Regions from separate parts of the Homo sapiens genome. Here regions 2 and 3 are each linked to region 1. Evidence: promoter capture Hi-C in 16 types of primary human blood cells and fetal thymus (Javierre and others, 2016). All regions are on one chromosome and are shown on one strand. Each heading gives the region's core, a stretch centred on a gene start or on the middle of the fragment in contact. The rest is flanking DNA. Distances are from core to core; before and after follow the strand shown.

Region 1 (5,031 bases), core at 1,876-4,375:
GCAGTAGCTGGTAAAGGTAACAACTCTCCCAAAAACAATGAGAAATTTGATTATGTCTCCTATCCATCTTAGCTGAAGAAAACCCCAAAATACAGTCATAAGAATAGTAAGTATCTTATTTTGTAGAAGAAGTTTTTCTGGTTTTGTGTTTTTGTGCAGAGGAGGTAGAAAAAGAAAAGAAAAAGTGAATATCATTTCTGAATCTGCCTACATTCCCTGAAACATTTAGGAATTTATGAATTCATGAATCTTGTCTATTCTCTGAAATCTTGTAGAAGAGCCTGACCTCCTACAGCTATATCAATATAAGCGACTGAAGGGCAGAGAGTGGTCCTGCTTTTCTTTTTTCAATATTATTGTATTCCCAGAGCCATTTAGTAGGTGTTCAATAATTTTTTTGATTACTAAAATGATGAATGCATGGCTGCTCGGAAGACAGAGCAGGCTCTCTCTTGGGTAAGGAGTACATAGAAAAATAAATGTGGGTTCTTAAAATTCTTAAAAGGCACAAGACTTCCAGGGAACACTCCAACTAAAAAATAAATAAAACCAATCTAATACATGTTACTTGGCCAAAGAATTCTAGCATCCTGACATTTTTGTGGGCTTCCAGAAGGAGCAATTGGTTCAGTCACATCTGTAACCCCTCCATCACATAGAACAAAAAGGATATATAACTTCCTGATTTTAAAACACAATTCCAACTAACCCTTTCAGGACATTGGGTTCTAATTGAAGGTCTTGAACTACGAATCCAAATACCCTGATAAAGTTAATAAACAACCAGAATATTTAATTACTGTATCATCGTTTGTGTCTCTTTCAGTTTCAAGGGACAGCAAATGCAGTCCAAGCTGCCTTAAGACAAAAGTGAATGTGGCCAGTCGCGGTGGCTCAAGTCTGTAATCCCAGCACTTTGGGATGCCGAGGTGGGCGGATCTCGAGGTCAGTAAATCGAGACCATCCTGGCTTACACGGTGAAACCCCGTCTCTACCAAAATACAAAAAATTATCCGGGCCTGGTGGCGGGCTCCTATAGTCCCAGCTACTCGGGAGGCTGAGGCAGGAGAATGGTGGGAACCCGGGAGACGTAGCTTGCAGTGAGCTGAGATCACGCCACTGCACTCCAGCCTGGGCGACAGAGCGCGACTCCGAATCAAAAAAAAAAGTGAATGTATTTGTTTATGAATGAAAATATCCAGAGATAGAACTTATTTCAGCTACAGCTCGATTCCAAGCTCGAAAATCTCCATCTGGGTTTCACTTTTCTCCAACTCTCAGTTCTGCCTTCCTGAGTATCAGCTTTATTTTCAGACTTCAAGCTCTAAGCTCACATCTTCATTATGCAAAGTCCAGTAGAAGAGAGTCCACTTTCTTAAGAGAGGAAGGAAAAAAAAAAGTCCCAGAATGGTGGTTTTTTTCTGTTTTTCTCTCTGATTGGCCAGACCTGGGTTACATACCTACCCATGCTACCAGGACAGAAAGCCATCACTGGCCAGACCTGAGCTGTGGGTCTACCAGTGAGTCAGCAGCGGCTGACATCACCTAAAGCAAATGGGCTGCGGGGTGAGATCAAGTGGTTGGATCTTCCAAAATGAACAGGAGTACTGTTTCAACAAGAGTGAGTGCTGGGAAGCAAAACCACAAATGGCCAATACAAAGTATCATTAGTAGACCCCACTTAATACAATTCACATGTTAGTGGAACCAAATGAAATTTTTAAAAATATATATCATTCGATTCACACTTCTAATCAAACTATAGTTCTGGAGAGGGTAACCTCACACCTTGAATCCAAAATATCTCTTCAGTTGCTGGCCTTCCACTTGTCTTCAGGAGCTGAAACACATGGCATTTGAAAAAAACTGGCGAACAGAGGAAACTCTTGCAGCCTCGCAGCCGCCCTGGTCCAGTGCCAACGGCAGGAGCACCACAGGAAGGGACCGCGCGGGTGCGCCCCACCCTTCCAGCGTCGCCTCGGGGACTCGCACCCCTTTCCCTGGCCGCACAAGACGTTTCATCCTTGGCGGCCGCCGCCAACCCGCCGGGAGGGGCGGTCGGAACTGGCAGGCCGGGGCGGAACCCCCGGGGTCTCCTTGTCGAGGCCCGGGCAGCCAGATCCTCAGGGCCGGTCCGGGCGGGAGCCCGGTCGATGGAGGCGGCTCCCGTCCTCAGCTCCCGCTCCCTCCCCTTCCCCGGGGCGGGCGCGCGCGGGCCGGGAGCTGGGAGGCGGCGGCTCCCGCCCGGGAGGCGGTGGCGAGGGCGGCGGAGGCGCGGCCGGGCGGGTCCCAGGGCCGTGGTTCTCCAGCGCAGGAGTCCCCGGCGCACCCGCTGCGCTCGCCCCGCAGCCGCAGCCTGAGCGGCCGAAGTCGCCACCAGCTGTGTCCGCGCAGATCCCGGGCGCGGAGGGGAGAGGTCGCCCGCTTGTCGCCCCCGCCGGACCCCGGGCACCGCGTAGCACCCAAGCGCCACCCGGACGAGGGGCCCTGGGGAGCGGCTGAGGCCGAAGACCCGAGGGAAGGAGGAGCCCGCGGACGGCTGCAGCCCCAGGTAATCTCCATGGAGGACGGGGCCGGTCTCCTCGCCCAGAAACCCGATCCGGGCGCCTTGGAATGCGGACTCCAGAGGCGGCATCTCGACCAGACAAGTTTCTCGCGGCTTGGAATGAGGGAGTCCTGAAACCGACACTCGTTTTATTTAACCAGCTTTTTTCTCCTGTTTTAAATAAGTTTATTTAGACAATGGAAAGAAAAAAACAAACAGCCTCTTGAGTGACTGTGGGTTTGTAAATATAATCCTAAAAGTTTTTCATGGTGTGGTTATTTGCTTGCTCATATTTATTAACCTGTTAACTCTTCCGCTAGTCAGAAAATTGACATGTAAAATATTCTTTGAGGAACGTTACAAGTTTGCTGTTGTATTCGGGCATCCTGTTATTCATCAGCTTAGTTAGCATCTGTCTTCCCCCGAAGTGGTACCAAAGCCGGTCCCTTGGCGACGGGTCTTGCATGTGACACTCTTGCCCTCTAGTGCCTCACCAGCTTGGTAGCAGTTTGATGGCTAATATTAATAAGATGTTACATAACATGAGAGTACTGGGCCAGGACTGGTGTTGCTACCACTTGTAAAGTCAAAAAGCCTGAGCCGATGGTAACGAGTGGTACTGTTTCCGTTTCTTTTCCATCTATTGCAACTTTCTCAAGCATTTTCAGCTCTGAACTTTAATTCCAGGTAAGTGTATTTATTTATTTATACTGTGCATTAATGCCTCACTCATAAATGTAGGGGCTTTTAAGAGATAACAACTTTGCTTTCAAATAATCTAAAAATTTCAAGATTGAACAAGTGCTTCATTTTATTCTTGAAGAAGAAATATAGAGTATTTTGATTAAATTAAGTGAAACAAAGGACCGTCTCATTCAGGGATGATTTTAAAGCTTCCCTTTCATAAGATTATGGTACTAAAGAAATGACCTCTTGTAATTGTTTAAGATATTCACCAACTTATAATGATTCTGAAGTAGATCTGTTTAACAGAACACATGTCTGTTGCCTTGACAGAATTTTGTAAGGAATATCAGAGACTTTAAACTACCTGCCTATCTACACAGTAATGATCCTCAAAAGGCTTTCTATTTGATGCAGTTTATAGACATTATTTAAAACTATACAATTAATAAAATTAAATGGAAATGGAAAGAATCAATCTAGGTATCAAATACAGAAACTTTAAATTTAAAGAAAACAGATATATCTTCTATTTAATATATCCATTTTGTGGGGGCAGGTAAAAGCAAAGTTACATCTTTAAGGGGTTTACTCAGATCCTTTTTCAAATAGTTTTTCTAATAGCTGGATACTGTTTAAGCATCAGAGTTATTTAATGTCGAAAATGTATTAGTATCTATATTCTTTATAAACATATTGAAATATAGCAACATGTAATCTGGAAGAGTTTAGAAGAAAACCCTTCTAGACAATGCAAACAGCTACATTCTTAATACATTTGTATTAAATTAAAATACAAATCAAATATTGAGATGTGTGCAACTGATCTGGGACACACACTTTTTTTTTGTTTTTTTTTTTTGCCCTTAGAAAATTTCATGTTATCAACTACTGAGCAATGCTGTTCACCACCAGAGAGCAGGATGATATGGCAGAGAAACTCTAGAATATCCGATATTCAGCTGAAGGGAATTTTTTTCCCTTTTTCTTCATCCATACCTTCCTATCAATATTATATTTAAGATGGAGATTTCAAATATAAGTTTGAAGGAGGCTCCTTTTTAAAATAGTACTGAACATATAAAGAGGCTTGCCTAAGATAAGCTCTTTTTTTTCTTTCTCTGGTTAACACAGTATCTACCATTTCTAATTTTGTTATCATTTTTCTTTATCATCTTGATGGTAAAACAGAAGATTTGTTTCTTTGTGTAAATAATGTTAATTTTGAGCTTGTCACATGAGTTAATTTTCTTCATAGTCTTTAAAATGAAGAATTCTTACATTACTAAAATGTTTTAGATAAAATAAAACTTTTATCTCTTTCTGGAGATATTTGTTATAGTTTAGTTTGGTGGAGTTATATATACCCTCTTTTTAAATTAATTTTCTTGAGAAAAGCATTATTTCTGAACATTGAGGCAAATATTAATTTTTGGTGTAACTGAAAAGTTTGTTAAAAAATATATAGTAGAAGAGATAATCAGGCATTGGAGATTCTTTTTCTAAACCATATATTCTGCTAAAGAAGTTATTATAAGCTAAAATGTAAATATGTAATTGTCTACCTGTCATTTCAAAATTTTAAAACTGTAAAGAAATTACAATTTTTTTTCTTTTAATCTTGGGACTCTGATTATATGACTTCCTTGAAACCTGATTGAGTTTCAGCTGCTTTTTGGTGATTAGAGCCTTAAAAGTGCATTTGTTAAGATGCAAAATATATTTTTTTAAACTATATGTAAATACTTTGTGATTTATATACACTATAAAATCAGGGAAATTGAATTAAGGATAAAAACACT
Region 2 (5,031 bases), core at 1,037-3,536, 910 kb before region 1:
TGTACCATTGGTGCATTTTCCATAATGCCTCACATGTGTCCAAGACCTACATGCACTATTCACTGTGTTTTGTTTTTTCTGTTTCTCTGCTCTGGGGTATAAAGGTATGGTTGAAAATGTCAAAACGGGCTGCAGATATCCCTATGGGTAACAGTGATAAAGAAAAAAAGGAAGCATTTTTGTTTATCTACATCACGGAAAGTCAAGCTGTTGAAGAAACTGAACAGTAGTGTAAGCATGAAACATCTCACAGAAAAGTATAATGTTGGAATGACCATCATATATGACCTGAAGAAACAGAGGATAAACTGTTGAATTTCTTTGCTAAAAGTGATGAACAGAAGTCAGTGAAAAATAGAAAAACACTGCATAAAACTAAAACTGGAGATCTTGAGAGTGTATTGAAAGAATGAATTGGTCAGCATCACAGTGGACACCAGCACTTGATGGTAAGCTGATTATAAAACAAGCAAATATCTAATTGAAGAGAAATTTGAATATTCATCAGACTGGTTGAAGAAATGTAAGAAAAAACATGGCATTAAATTTTGAAAGATTTGGGATAATAAAACATCTACTGATCCTGAAGCAGCAGAGAAATTCATTGATGAGTTTGCTAAGGTCATCACTGATGAAAATCTGACACTAGAACAAGTCAATAAAACTGATGAAACACCACTTTTTTGGTGTTATTGTCTCAGAAAGATACTGATTACAGCTGATGAGAAAAAGCCAACAGAAATGAAGAATGCCAAAAATAGAATAACTATGCTGGGATGTGCTAATGCAACAGGCATGCATGAGGGTAAACGTGCTGTGATAGGCAAAAGCTTGGGTCCTCAAAATTTTCAGAGAATAAGTTTCTTTTTTTGTTTTTTACACCTCCTAGGTTCAAGCGATTCTCCTGCCTCAGCCTCCCAAGTAGCTGGGATTACAGGTGTGCACCATGCCCAGTTAATTTTTGTATTCTTAGTAGTGATGGGGTTTCACCATGTTGGTCAGGCTGGTCTTGAACTCCTGACCTCAAGTGACCTACCCACCTCGGCCTCCCAAAGTGCTGGGATTACAGGCATGAGCCAAGGTGCCCAGCCAAGTTTCTTGACAGTCCATTGTTATGCTAACAAAAAGGCAAGATCACTAGAGAAATTTTGTCTGATTAGTTTCACAAACATTTGATAACAGTCTTGTGCTTACTGCAGGAAAGTTAGATTAAATAACTGTAAGGTTCTGTTATTACTTCTCATCAAAAATAATGTTTATGCCATGCACCTTCTTTCAAATTCAGCCATGTGACCAGGGTATCATTAGATTGATTAAATAAGGAAACACTTTCTTGAACAACATGATAGCATCAGTGAACAGAGGCATGGTGTGGAAAGTTTTTGAAATTTTTTTTTTTTTTGAGACAGAGTCTAGCTCTGTCACCCAGGCTGGAGTGCCGTGGCATGATCTTGGCTCACTGCAACCACCGCCTCCCAGGTTCAAGCAATTCTCCTGCCTCAGCCTCCCGAGTAGCCGGGACTACAGACGCCCACCACCACACCCAGCTAATTTTTGTATTTTTAGTTGAAACTGGGTATCACCATATTGACCAGGCTGGACTGGAACTCCTGACCTTGTGATCTGCCCACCTTGGCCTCCCAAAGTGCTGGGATTATAGGTGTAAGCCACCACTCCTGGCCTTGGAATGATTTTAACAAGACAAATGTGATATATTCTGTTGGCAATGCTTAGAACACAGTGATTAAAAACACAATTGTTCATGTCTTGCTCAACCTCTGACCTGTGACTAAATTCAGTGATAATTATGAACAAGGTAGTGACTTTTTAGGATTTCATACATCAAGTGAGAGTAAAAATGATGTCTGACCTTTTATATATGCAAAAAATATAGCTTCAGAATCCATCAGTAAGCTTGAAGATGTGGATATCAAAAAAAATTTTAACATTAGAAATTAAGCTCCAGTGGTTTATTCATTGACTAATCAAAAATAGTCAAAATGATTATGAATCAAGGTGATCATGATAATAGCCATGATGAAGACGATGATGTTAAAACTGCGGTAAAAGTATAAATGACGTCAAAACGTGTAATGGGCTCCTTAAGAAATAGAGCTGCATGCATTCATATCAAAACAAAAATATGTCAATTTATAAATCAAAGAGAGACTTCTAAGGAAAACTGTTATTAATGAGGCAGATGATTCTGGAAGAAACATTTTAAAAAGCCATCCAGGAGCATGGATCCTCATGCCTAGAAGACTCACTTTCTGGTCCCTCGACTTCATCTGATGTTTTTTCTCACCTAAAAAATTAAAATAATATATAACGTACATAAACCTTTTAAATTAAAACACTGCATTATACGTAGGAACTAAAAGCCTGGCTTGTTTGTTGTTGCTGTTAACAGCTGATCTAAGTATTCTGGTGATGCTGCTGTGTTGCTTAGCTACCCGGAAGACAAATTTTCACTTTATTAATTGTATGCCTTTTTTTAACTGTTAATTACTTATCTGTAAATAAGTATATGAAAATGATCACTCATGAATAGCACATAAGTTCAAAGTCAGGAATGATGTTGATGCTTAAAAAAACCACAGATTGTCTACATGGGTGGTGAATATAGTGAAACCTTTGCTCTCTGATGGTTCTATGTACACAAGCTTTATTTCATGCACACAATTACTAAAACTTTTATATAAAATTACCTCTAGGCTATATGCATAAGAAATATAAATGAGCTTTATATTTAGGCTTAGATCTCACCTCTAAGATTCTCATTATGTACATGAAAATATTCTGAAAACCAAAAAATCTGAAATACAAAACACTTCTGGTCTCAAGCATTTCAGGTAAAGGATACTCAAACTGTACCATTAAAAACAAATATAACATTAATTTGTTGTACACTTGGAGTGATGTAGCCTATATCCTACCTACAGTGAATATTTTAGCCATATATAAGATATTAAAAATGTATTTCTTGAAATTATTATTTAAATTATAGAGGCAAGTGTATTTTACTTTGGATGAAACAGGGAGATTTATCTTTATTATCTTAAATAGGCTTTTCCTAGTTTTGTAATTTCAACTTTTTTCTAAAGTTATTTATGAGTAATTCACTGTGTTTATGCATTTAAAAATCTTTGACTTATAGAATCTTGGCTTCCTGGAATTTTTTTTTTTTTTTTTTTTTTTTTTTTTTTTTTTTTTTTGAGAAAGAGTCTCATGCTGTTGCCCAGGCTGGAGTGCAGTGGCTCAATCTCGGCTCACTGCAAGCTCCGCCTCCCAGGTTCACGCCATTCTCCTGCCTCAGCCTCCCAAGTAGCTGGGACTACAGGCACCTGCCACCATACCTGGCTAATTTTTTGTAGTTTTTTAGTAGAGATGGGGTTTCGGTGTTAGCCAGGATGGTCTCTATCTCCTGACCTCGTGATCTGCTCGCTTCAGCCTCCCAAAGTGCTGGGATTACAGGAGTGAGCCACTGTGCCCGGCCCTATTTTTTTTTTACTGACCACATTTTAGAAGTTTTATTTTTCTTCTGCAATTCTGGTAGGCCTTTCCTAATTAGCTATATCAGAAGTCATAGTAAACCTATAATATGGAAAGAAGATAAAAATATTAACTAACTGTTGTGAGAAGTCAGGGATGCCAAACAGAGGGACCAGCTGAAGCCATGGCAGAAGAACGTGGATTGAGAAGATTTTATGGACATTTATTAGTTCCCCAAATTAATACTTGTGTAATTTCTTATGACTGTCTTTACTGAGTCTCTAAACATAAATTGTAAAGATTTCATGGACACTTATCACTTCCCCAATCAATACCCTTGTGATTTCCTATGCCTGTCTTTACTTTAATCTCTTAATCCTGTCAGCCGAGGAGGATGTATGTCACCTCAGGACCATGTGATAATTGCATTAACTGCACAAATTGTAGAGCATGTGTGTTTAAACAATATGAAATCTGGGCACCTTGAAAAAAGAACAAGATAACAGCAATGTTTAGGAAACAAGAGAGATAACCTTAAACTCTGACCGCCAGTGAGCCGGGCAGAACAGAGCCATATTTCTCTTCTTTCAAAAGCAAATGGAAGAAGTATCGCTGAATTCTTTTTCTCAGCATGGAACATCCCTGAGAAAGAGAATAAGCGCCTGGAGGTATCAGCTTATAAACAGCCCACCTGGGTGTGGCCTGTCTCTTATGGTTGAGACTGCAGGGGTGAAATAGACTCCAGTCTCCCATAGCGCTCCCAGGCTTATTAGGAAGAGGAAATTCCCGCCTAATAAATTTTGGTCAAACCGGTTGATCTCAAAACCCTGTCTCCTGATAAGATGTTATCAATGACAATGGTGCCCGAAACTTCATTAGCAATTTTAATTTCACCTCGGTCCTGTGGTCCTGTGATCTCGCCCTGCCTCCACTTGCCTTGTGATAGTCTATTACCCTGTTAAGTACTTGATGTCTGTGACCCACACCTATTTGCACACTCCCTCCCCTTTTGAAACTCCCTAATAAAAACTTGCTGGTTTTTGTAGCTTGTGGGGCATCATGAATCCTAACAAAGTGTGATGTCTCCCCCAGACACCCAGCTTTAAAATTTCTCTCTTTTGTACTCTGTCCCTTTATTTCTCAAGCTGGCTGACACTTAGGGAAATAGAAAAGAACCTACATGATTATCGGGGCAGGTCCCCCTATAAATAACTGATAATTAGAACAAAATATGCTCTGTTTCAAAAATACTTAGGAACTATTTGTTTTATATGGCTGCTATAAAAATTATCATAAATTAGTGGCTTAAAACAGCAGAAATCTATTATGTTACAGTCTGGAGGCCAGAGTCTGAGATCAAGGTGTTGGCAGGTTTGTGCTCTTTTGAGCAACTCCAGGGAGAATCTTTCCCATTCCTCCCTCCTAGCTTAGCTTCTGGTGACTACCTTCAATTCTTGGCATTCGTTGTCTCATAGCTCCACCACGCCAATCACTACCCTCTTTATATAATCTTCTCCTCTATGTCTTCTCTTCTTCCTG
Region 3 (5,031 bases), core at 729-3,228, 890 kb before region 1:
AAAAGATAGCAAGTGTTGGCAAGGGTGTGGAGAAAAGGGAGTCATTACACAGCAATGGTTGGACTGTAAATTAGTACAGTCATTCTGGAAAATAGCGAGGAGTTTCCACAAAAGATTAAAAATAGAACTACTGTATGTTCCCAGCAATTTAACTACTGAGTATATGTCCAAAGGAAATGAAATCAGTGTGTCAAGAGGGTATTTGTATTCATGTTTACTGCAGCACTATTCACAATAACCAAGATCTGCAATCAACTTGTTCATCAACCGATAAGTGGATAAAGAAAATGTGATGTGGTGTATGTCTACACATATACACAATAGACTACTATTCAGCCACAAGAAATTCTAAAATCCTGTCATTTGTGGCAATATGCACAAACTCGGAGGACATTATGCTAAGCGAAATAAGCTAGGCACAGAAAGACAAATACCACATGATCTCACTCATATATGCAATCTAAAAAGTTGTTCTCATAGAAGTAGAGAGTAAAGTAATGATTACCAGAGGGTAAGGAGGGTGGGTGGAGGAGGAGAAAGATTGGTCAATAGGTACAAAGCTATGGTTAGATGGGAGGAATAAGTCATGGTGTTCTATTTCACAATAGAATAGAGTTAACAATAATGTATTGCATATTTCAAAATACCTAGGAGAGGTTTTTGAATGTTCTTGTTAAGAGAAATGATAAATGTTTCAGGTGATGGATATGGTAATTACCCTTATTTTATTATTATACAATGTATACATGTGTCAAAACTTCACGATACCTCATAAATATGTGCAATTAGGATGTCTCAATTGCAAATTCAAAAAAGTATCAATAAACCAAAAAGAACCATTCCATAATCATGTAAATTATAAAGCATGATTTAGAAAGAAAAAAGAAACAATACAATCAAATTGATGGTGAAGAAAGCTTTGCATAAAATACAATACTAAATAAATTGCAAGCCAAAATTAAAATATACAGCTTTGAAATTGAAGATTTTATTCAAATATTACCAAATTCAAAGCACAGATATAAGAGCTCAGGGAAGATATAATAGGCTAACAGATGAAGCAGACTCTTAGGTGAAGAAAATCAGAAAATAAATTAAAAATAAAATAAAACCAATAAAGAAATAGCAACATTTCTAGCAATAGTAAACATATAGTTTAACTTATATATATGTGTATATATACACAGATATATGTGTGTATATGTGTGTGTAGTTTATATATGTATATATACATATATGTGTGTACGTGTGTATTAATATAGTATGTATACACACATATGTATATATATGTTTGTATATGTATACACATACATACACACATATATACACACACATATATATACACACATATAATGAGTTTTGCTAAAAACATAGTAAGTCATAAAAAATTAAAATAAATTATCAAATTGTGATAAAACATTGAAAAATAATAAATACGGAGGACAAATAAAGATGAATGTACATTTCTAATTAATCCAAGTTAAGAAGAAATAAAACAAATGTTTCTGTAAAATATTCAAACAGCTTTTGATGTTAATCAATATGTTGAAAGAGTTCATCTTATAGTGTAAAATATATGGATTTTATAACCTTGAGACAAGTCTTCACAAAATTTCTTGGACTTCAAGTTATCCAAAGCAGCCATAAACAGTGCTCATAATCCACTACCACACACCAGGAAACCTCATTTTGATTGTACAAGTGCCTTTTCTGATTAATTGGTGCCTGTGCCATTCTGATATTTTTAGCATTTGTACATAAAGAGGGAAGAACATCAGGAATAAGAATTCTCTACTGCAATGACAGATACTTCAAAACAGTGGAGTTATATAATCTAAGGTCAAAGAAAGTTTAGAATGAAAAACACAATAAATCTAAGAAAAACAAGAGAGATAAATCACTAAGTTAGAAAACAATGGATAGGATATGAAAACAGAAAAATGGTAACAACAAAATAAGCTCAAGAATTTGGTCTTTGAATGTTCTAACATATAGCTATAATATTAGCTCATTTAATAAGAAAAAGAGAAACATGTATATACCAGTGAACTAATATTGGAGAAATAATATTCAGTGAAAGTTTTAAAACAAATTTTAAAACATAACTTTGCATAGTTTTATATGAATATATTTATAAAGGAGGTTTTCTAGAAAATATATACAGAGACAATTAAACAAAGAAGCAATAGACTTAAATGAATTTTTCTTATAGGAGAAATAGAAACAAAACTTTCAAAAGTTCCCTTTCATAGAAAGTATAAATTCTTCAATTTCATTTTTAACTTCCACCAAAACTGTAAGTAACTCATCACTCCAATGCTATTTCAAATGTCAGATCACAGAGAATAAGAACAATAAAAGGTCTTTGAAATACATTTTAGGTCTCCATCAAACTAATGACCACAGAACTGCAATGCTATTTCTCTGTCACAGAAAACTACAGTACAGACCAATCTCCCTTCTCCATATTTGAGAACTGTAACTATTATTCAATATTAATATTTCTCAATAAAATTTGTCATCATAATAAAAATAAACAAAAATATGGCTATTTATCAATTTAGGCTAAAGATGAGTTGAATAGAATTAACATCCATTAAAAAAGTTTGATATTTTACTCTTATTTTTCTCTCAGAACCCACATTCAAGATCTCCACAAATCCTGTCAGCTGTCAATTTTGACATCCCTCAATAACTGAACAATTTTTATTATATCCAACGCTTTTACTCTAGTCCAATTTATTATCACAACTTTTCTTGTTATTCCAAAAGCTCCTATAACCTTATCTTCTTATTTCTAATCTTGCATTCCTGGGGTCTATTGTCAAAATAGCATCCATATCAGAGCTTCACTCTGCTGAAATCTTCCAGTGGTATTTCATGTCACTCAGCATAACATCCAACACCCTTACTATGAATCAAAATGGCTGAAATGATCTATAACTCAAAAAGGCTGAAATCCCGAATGGAATTACTATCCTTACAAAAGAGGTCCAAGAGAGACCCTGTGCCCGTTTTGCCATGTGAGGACACACAGGGAGAAGCTTCTGTCTATGAATCAGAAAGCAGGCCCTCACCAGACACCAAATTTGGAGACATCTCTATCTCTCTGTTCTTACCTTGTACTAGTCTCCCCCATGCCTGTTGTGCCTCAGCTCTCCTGATCCTTGGGTTTTGATCATGTGTCCCTCCACCACGAGTTCTTCTCCCTGATATCCACATTTTCACGCCCTCAGTTTTCTTTTTCTCTAAAAGCACCATTAGGATTTCTCTATTTCTTTTTATAAAATAACAAACTTTCAATCACTGTGTTCATTTTCTGTTTTGTTCACTGCCGTATCTCCAGTACCTTACAAACAGAATAAAATACACTGATGTTCAATAACCATTTTTGATGAATAAGCAAATGAATATGAAAAAATGAGCAATATCTTTATGTATTGATATGCAATCTTGCCTTTACTATATTGTTAGATGCAAAAATATTTTGTAGAAAAACAAGTGCAATATGAGCTGATTTGGATAAAAATATACATACTATGTCAGTGTATAAAGTATAATGTCAATTTTATGTATATGTATATTGAATAAGTTTATGTGTACCTAAAAACATAGGCATATCTTTATATAACTGAAAGGAAGGAATGAAGGAAAAAAGGAAGGCGAAAAGATCTGGTGAGATCTAACCCAATCCAAACTGTAAACAGTAGTGGCCACTGGTAGATATGATTTAATGTTTGTATGTATGGGTGTGTATAGGCTGTGGTGGCAGGATATTATGAGATTTTTACTTTTCAATTTATATCATTATCTATTGTTTTACTACCATTCTCTACAATTTTCTACTTATTCTCTACCATTCTTGATTGCCTTTTAGTTTTCAAAAACAATTAATATTGTATTTTTAACACAGTTAAAATATAACAGTCTTTGTTGAGAGCTGCTATGGTCTCAATATTTGTGTTCCCCCCAAAATTCATAAATTGAAATTCTCATCCCCAAGGTGATGGTGTTAGGAGGTGGGGCCTTTGGGAGTTGATAAGGTCATGAGGGTGGAGCCCTCCTGAATGGTATTACTATCCTGACAAAAGAGTCCGAAGAGAGACCCCATGCCCCTTTTTGCCATGTGAGGAGAGAGAGAGAAGTTTCTGCCTATGAATAAGAAGGCAGGCCCTCACCAGACACCAAATTTGGAGACATCTTGATCGTGGACTTCCCAGCATCCAGAACTGTGAGAAGTAAATTTCTGGTGCTTATAAGATATCCAGACTATGGTATGTCTAGCAGGAAAAATGAACTAAGATAAGAGTCAATGTTTCAAGTTAAAGTTAACATTAGATACTACGTTGGTTCTTATTTTAAAATAGATATTCTGTATTACATTGGTAAATACTATATTTTATTATGAAAAATTATTTTTAAAAACAGAAATTGCTGTTGAATTTTGTCAAACATCTTTGGTTTGTTTCACAATTATGCCAAATATTTATCAAAATACACTATATCTTCTTAGGACAGAGACTTACTAATGTTAGATGTAGATTAAATAATGCTGGTTACTATTTCTGTTTAAAGAATGATCTAAAAGTTGTACTCTTCATTTCTGTGTTTCTCATCATCCTGAAGCAGCTGGATTGATAGAATGGTGGAATGAAGGCCAACTAAGTGACAAAGTTTGTAGGGCTGGGGCAAAGTTTTCCAGAAAGCTGTGTATACTCTCACTCAGAGTCCAATATATGGTACTGTTTTTCCCATAGCCAGGATTCACAAGTTCAGGAATCAAAGGGTAGAAGTGGAAGTGACACCACTCGTTATCATCCATAGTGACCCACTAGCAAAATTTTTCCTTGCTGTTCCTGCGTTCAGCTTGCCTAGAGGTCTTAGGTCCAGAGGGAGGAATGCCGCCACCAGAAGACACAACAATGATTCCATTAAACTGGAAGTCAAGATTGGCACCTGGAAACTTTGGGCTCCTCCTACCTCCAAGTCAACAGGCTAAGAAGGGAAATACAGTGTTGGCAGGGGTGATTG

What was found. Contacts are between HindIII fragments. The CHiCAGO score rates a contact against its expected background, and 5 or more counts as called.
Region 2: a fragment that was not itself captured here is called in contact with the fragment with the promoter of NDST3 in region 1 in 1 of 17 cell types (megakaryocytes); the score reaches 6.5 in megakaryocytes.
Region 3: a fragment that was not itself captured here is called in contact with the fragment with the promoter of NDST3 in region 1 in 1 of 17 cell types (megakaryocytes); the score reaches 5.4 in megakaryocytes.

Annotation. Positions count from the first base shown.
Region 1 is chr4:118,031,361-118,036,391 of GRCh38, forward strand. It overlaps NDST3 (N-deacetylase and N-sulfotransferase 3), which reads left to right and starts at 3,126. Exons shown (of 14, transcript NM_004784.3): 1 at 3,126-3,232. The HindIII fragment of the contact is 5,573 bases long and covers 1-3,436 here.
Region 2 is chr4:117,119,808-117,124,838 of GRCh38, forward strand. No RefSeq gene overlaps it. Among named protein-coding and RNA genes, the nearest start is that of TRAM1L1, 37 kb to the left of the region's middle. RefSeq lists an enhancer at 4,037-4,545. The HindIII fragment of the contact is 749 bases long and covers 1,913-2,661 here.
Region 3 is chr4:117,141,467-117,146,497 of GRCh38, forward strand. No RefSeq gene overlaps it. Among named protein-coding and RNA genes, the nearest start is that of TRAM1L1, 58 kb to the left of the region's middle. The HindIII fragment of the contact is 2,127 bases long and covers 916-3,042 here.